Regions from separate parts of the Homo sapiens genome. Here region 1 is linked to region 2. Evidence: promoter capture Hi-C in 16 types of primary human blood cells and fetal thymus (Javierre and others, 2016). All regions are on one chromosome and are shown on one strand. The core of a region is centred on a gene start or on the middle of the fragment in contact, and the rest is flanking DNA. Distances in the headings are between cores, read along the strand shown. Region 1 has its middle 29 kb from the start of SHISAL2A. Region 2 holds the start of TUT4 (terminal uridylyl transferase 4).

Region 1 (2,871 bases), core at 327-2,826, 110 kb before region 2:
TGCGGGGAGGGCGGAGGAGGTGCTTGGAGGGAACCTGTGCTTGGGATTCTGCCAGTAACGGGCTGCGAGGGGTCTGGGGCAAATCCCTCACGCCTCTGGGTCTCAGTTTTTCCCTATTTCAAATGGGGATAATAATTCTCACCCTGGGGAAAGTTCGGGAGTTGATCAGCCCGGGAGGACATCTGCAGCCACAGGACAAAGAGCTAAGAGAGATGGAGAAGAGGGAGGGGTGTGGAACCGCAGGGAGCTGCGAGGGGCTTACGGCTTCCATGGTAACCTACAGCAGCCAGGAGAGAAGGCGGGGCTTGAGAACCCGGAGCTGGAGGTTTAGAAGATGAAGGTTTCACAATGAAGCTCCCTACTTCCCGGAGAAAGGCCTCCTTGGAGATAAGGCTGGCTGCACGACAGCAGCCCTCTGTGCTGGACAAGTAGTGATTTTGCCCTGTGCTTGAATAAACAAACCATGGCACTTTCCACAGTGTATTTAACTGTCTATTTAACCTAGCAGTCTTCCTCCAGTAGCCTGAGAATTCCCTGAGGGCAGGAATTATGACTGATTCATTTCTTTGTTCCTAGAGCCCAGGACAAGACCTGGCACACAAAAGATAGTCTGTTGGTTAGCGGACTATGGCTGAAGGTGGGGCTAGAGAGATCTACTTGTCCAGAGCCCTTGGAGCCCTAAGGGGTACTCTCTTTAAAACAGAAAGGGTGGGGGGGCGGTACCTCACGCCTGTAATCCCAGCACTTTGGGAGGCCTAAGTGGGCAGATCACTTGAGGTCTGGAGTTCAAGACCAGCCTGGCCAACACGGTAAAACCCCATCTTTATTTAAAAAAAAAAAAAAAAAATTAGCCGGGCATATTGGCAGGGGCCTGTAATCCCAGCTACTCACAAGGCTGAGGCAGGAGAATCACTTGAACCCGGGAGGTGGAGGTTGCAGTGAGCTGAGATTGAGACATCGCACTCCAGCCTGGGTGACAGAGCAAGACTCTGTCTCAATAAATAAATAAATAAATAAAATAAAATAAAATAGAAAGTTGACAGGATAGAATGCTTCCTCTACCTGGATGAGACCCTTCAAGTATTGCCATGGTCCATCAAGATTAAGTTCAACCCCTGCTTCCTCCATGAAGGCTTCCAGACTGTTTCTTTTCTCCTGCCTTAGAATCTTTGCAACTCTAATGGTCCTTACCCCACATCTTGGCATTTGTTTGGGATCTCTCTCTGACTGTTCTCTAGGGGTTTCACGGGTCAAACCTACTCTTCATCTCTAGTAAGTAAGGCCTGAAGGGCGGGGTTGCAGGATTATTATTATTTTTTTTTTTTTGAGACGGAGTCTTGCTCTGTCACCCAGGCTGGAGTGCAGTGGCGCAATCTCAGATCACCGCAACCTCCTCCTCCTGGGTTCAAGCGATTCTCCTGCCTCAGCCTCCCGAGTAGCTGGGATTACAGGCACCTGCCACCATGCCTGGCTAATTTTTTGTATTTTTAGTAGAGACGGGGTTTCACCATGTTGACCAGGCTGGTCTGGAACTCCTGACCTCAGGTTATCCGCCCTCCTTGGCCTCCCAAAGTGCTGGGATTATAGCTGTGAGCCACCATGCCCGGCCGTATTCTATTCTAAGGGCTTGTCACAGTGGTGGGCCCACAGTGTGTCTTCAGTCAACTCTCTCAGAGTGGGTCATCTGCTCTGGGTGGCCTTGATCCTGTGAGGGATGGAGAAGGTATGCAAGGAGCCCTTCACACCCCTGTGAGTGTTCCACACACGAGACTTCCCAGGTGGGACCCAGGGTTCTGGGACCGAGCAAGGCATGGAGCTCTCCTGGGCTGTGGCCTGCAGCCTGGCTTTGGCTGTCTTGTGCCCTGGCCCCTGAGCCAACAGGCACAGATCAGGAGGAGCAGTGTCATGAGTCAGTCAGGCAGTAGAATGGCCTCCCCCTGACCGGAGGACAGATGTCTAGGGCCCAAGTCATTTCTTGTGGATACATGAGACATCACTGTCCTTTAGACTTCTGAAGGATCTGCAACCAAAGGGCCCCAAAGGCAGAGATCCTGAATGGCAAATTTCACTTCAATGTTACAGAGAACAGGAAGCAAGTGCTCACAAAAGGTGTTGTCGAGTTCCTTTCCATGCTTGAAACCCTTTCCTGTGGCTCCCTTTTGCCCTCGGGATAAAGACCAAGCCCCTTAATATGGCAAAGGCTTCAGGACTTGGCTCGTCTACCCTTCCAGCTTCATCTTTCACCATTCCCACCTTGTGTCTACCCAAACTGAACTACTTATTGTTACCTGAAAGAACCATATGGTCTCTCTTAGCCATAGGTCTTCATGTATGCTGTTCCTTCTGCCTTAAATGCTGTTCCTCATCTTGTACCAGAAACCTCCTTTCACCTGTCAGTGGGTCCTTTAAACTTAATCCAGTTATTGCTTACTCCAGGAGGCCTTCCCAAAGTCTTTGGCTAGATTAGGGATCTTTTGTAAATGCCTGTAGCAATGAGCTTCTTGAAGATAGGGATCGGGACCTCATTTAGCCAAGATTCTGGCAGAAAATCATTGTCAATCAATGTTGAATGGACAAACAAATGTGAACGTCTGAGAAAAAAACACCTAGCAGGATAGCTGTAAAGGGGAGTGGAATGTTCTAACGTTTCCAAGTTCCAAGATTCAACATTCTCTAATTCTGGGCTGAAGATTCACTCCCCTCCATCCGAAGCCCACTCTCCAGCTAGCTCCTCCGCCCTGTGCCCTCTGAGTGTTTGTTCTCAGGCAGGCACACACACATGTTCTGAACATAACCGGGAAAGCAATTTACAAGAAATAATTGCCGGTCGATGTGTGCTTGGGAACAGCGGTGAGCTCAGACTATTTCTGT
Region 2 (2,700 bases), core at 144-2,643:
AATGAGAGCAACAGTACGTAACTCACAGGGCTATCGTGAAGTGGAGCGTCCCTCTGTGACCTCTAACCAGTCCCAGCCTGAGTCACATTATAAGAAAATTTATAAGGCACTATCTTGTAAATACTTAAGATTTAACATCTTCCCTTCACCTCTACGTCCACTCTTTTCATACCTTTTTCCTGCCTAGCATGTGTCAAACTCAAAGGACTGGGCACAGAGCACAGAGGTTGTGTGCTTTGTCCAGCTTTGAGGTCAGAGATTGGCTAAATAATCTCTGAGGCTGGGGTCTTAAAAAAAAACAACAAAAAACAAAACTAACAAAACCTTAAGTCCGTTCCGCCCGTGACTTTAAATAATTATGTAGAGGAATGTAATACGTTAAAAGCAAGGGGATGAGGGGGCCCATTGATGGTAGATGGTTTTATGCCCGCCTGCAGCTAAAGAAATGATTTCTAAAACCTCTTTTGGGGGTGGGAGATGGAGTGCTCCAGAGATTTCTCTTCGAGCTCCTTCATTCCTGAACTGCCTGCCTTTTCAAAGGAAAAAAGGTCCAGCTGCGGTGGGCTGGAGGCCGTGGTGAGTGGGTGGGGGTCGACCCTGGCGGCTTCCTCTGCCCCGCTCCCTACCGTTGCTCCGAAGCCCGCTTGGGCTTCCGAGGGTCCGCCGAGGCTCGGGCCACGCCCAGTCCGAGTGCCAGGCCAGAGGGTACCCATTCCAGGCCGGCCTTCCTCCCCAGGGGGAGCAGCCTTGGGAGCGAGGCGCCGAGGCGGCCCTCGGGCTCGGCTTCCAGCTCGGGGGCCTCGGCAGAGACTAGGAACCAGACTGGGGCAGCACTGGGGCGCCCGCCACCCCCACCCACTCCGGCAAGCGGGCGAATCAGCGCGGCTAACCCGCGGCGCCCAGGCGGGCTGCGGGACCTCGCGACCTCCGCTCGGCGGCCCCGCCCCTGCCCGCGAGCCCCGGGTGGCTCCCTCCTCCCCTCTGCCAGCGGCCCGCCCCCTCCTCGCGAGCTAACGAGTGTCTCTCGCGCGCTCCCTTCCCTCCGCGTGGGTGTGAGTGCGCGATCCTCCTACCTCGGCCTTCTCCCCATTGTTTCTTCGCGGCCACCACGAGACCCCTCCCCCCAGTGCTGTTTCCCCCCTCCCCCGCCCCGGTGTAAACGGTGCCTGTGGGGCCCCCCGAACGAAGGGAGGGGGCACCCCTGAACCCTTCCCTCTGCGCGTAGCTCCTCCTCTCCCGGGCCAGGACCCCATTACAGGCTCTGTCCTCTCCCCTCCCCCTCTCCCCCGGCAACCGCTCTCCCTCGCCCCCTCCCCTCAGCGGGTCCTCCTCTTTCTCTCCCTCTCCCTCTCCCTCCTCCTCCCCCTCCCCATCCCTTCCCCCCCACAATGCAGTTCGCGGCGCGGCGGACATGGCGGTGGAGTCCTGAGCTAGTCGTGTCCCGGCCTCCAGCGGCGGCAGCGGCGACGGCGGCGGCAGCAGGAGGCGGAGGGAGAGCAGGAGCCACTGAGATGAGGAGGCGTCGCGCGCGCCTGTAGCTCGCGGGCCTCGCAGGTACGAGGTTCCGGCCGCGGGGCAGCGTCGGGTACCGAGGGGGTGTGCTCGGGAAGGCCGGGCGGCCCCCGGTTCGCCCTCCCCAGGTGCCGCGCTTCGCAGGTGTCGGGGGCCTGGCCTGAGAGCGTCTCAGCCGCCCCCTGGGGGCCTGACACTTCTTTCTTTCCTGGAACGGGCTTCGGGTGTCCCAGGGGAAGGCTGAGATAAGGGAGGTGGGGACGGCGGCCTGGGCGGCCTGAGGAGGGCATTGGGGCGCTTTGGGGACGAACTCCACACTGTGGCTGGGGCTCCCGGTCCCGGACCGAAACCTGTTGTAGACCAGCGGGGCGGATTTTGAGTTAACGGGATTGGTTTGAACATTTCTGTTGGGTCCAGTTACGATTCCCTGTCATGTGTACCTTTTTCTTTCACCCTTGCTTAGACATAGGTGACTACATAATGTATATAAATGTATACACGCATATAATACATACTGAATGTTTCCCCGGGCTCGTCCTTGTAGGGAGAAGGCAGAGGTGTCTGTGTGGATTTTGTTTCTTGCTCGCCCGCCTTCTCTCTCCCCCGCCCCCCAGTCGAAAGGTGGTAATGCGCGGTTTTGACGTGGGTAACTGAGATTCGTATTTGTAAACAGATAGCGCTCTCCTAGTGTGTTGCACGCCTCTGCGAAGGGTTTCAGACTCCTGTTGGTATCTGGATTGCGAAAGAATGAGATGTTTAGACCTGAAAGAAGCACATCAGCGGGATTTCTAGTCGTACTTGAATGGGATGAATTACTGTTGTATTAACAACGTTGATTACACATTTTCTTTTCAGAAGATTTCGAAGTCTTAGATGAATTTTGCGTGAGATCTTAGATACCGTATATCTGCTTCTTCATTTTGATAGAAGTAGTAGTTCCTTACACATTTGACCTGCCCTATCGTGATCTTAAATTGTGTCCAGAAATGCAATTCGAATTGTGTATTGTTGGCATGCATTTAGTAATTAGCCCGAGTGGATCAGATGGCCTTTTATTTCCAAAGATTTTTTCCCTCCAGTCTTACAGCAGCGAAATGTTTGTAGCACTTGATGAAACAGAACATATCCTGTTTCTGTTTTTAAAGTAATGAGAACTGTTAGCTAATAAAATTGGATAATCCCAGCCAG

The links. Contacts are between HindIII fragments. The CHiCAGO score rates a contact against its expected background, and 5 or more counts as called.
Region 1: a fragment that was not itself captured here is called in contact with the fragment with the promoter of TUT4 in region 2 in 1 of 17 cell types (naive B cells); the score reaches 5.9 in naive B cells.

What each region holds. Positions count from the first base shown.
Region 1 is chr1:52,660,488-52,663,358 of GRCh38, reverse strand. It overlaps a transcript of SHISAL2A not described here. Among named protein-coding and RNA genes, the nearest start is that of SHISAL2A, 29 kb to the right of the region's middle. RefSeq lists a silencer at 108-402. The HindIII fragment of the contact is 3,239 bases long and covers 1-2,871 here.
Region 2 is chr1:52,551,785-52,554,484 of GRCh38, reverse strand. TUT4 (terminal uridylyl transferase 4) reads left to right here and starts at 1,393. Exons shown (of 30, transcript NM_001009881.3): 1 at 1,393-1,554. LOC105378723 (a long non-coding RNA gene) reads right to left here. Exons shown (of 4, transcript XR_007066083.1): 4 at 1,648-2,244. RefSeq lists silencers at 691-1,090, 1,101-1,210, 1,251-1,380, 1,451-1,780. The HindIII fragment of the contact is 23,021 bases long and covers 1-2,700 here.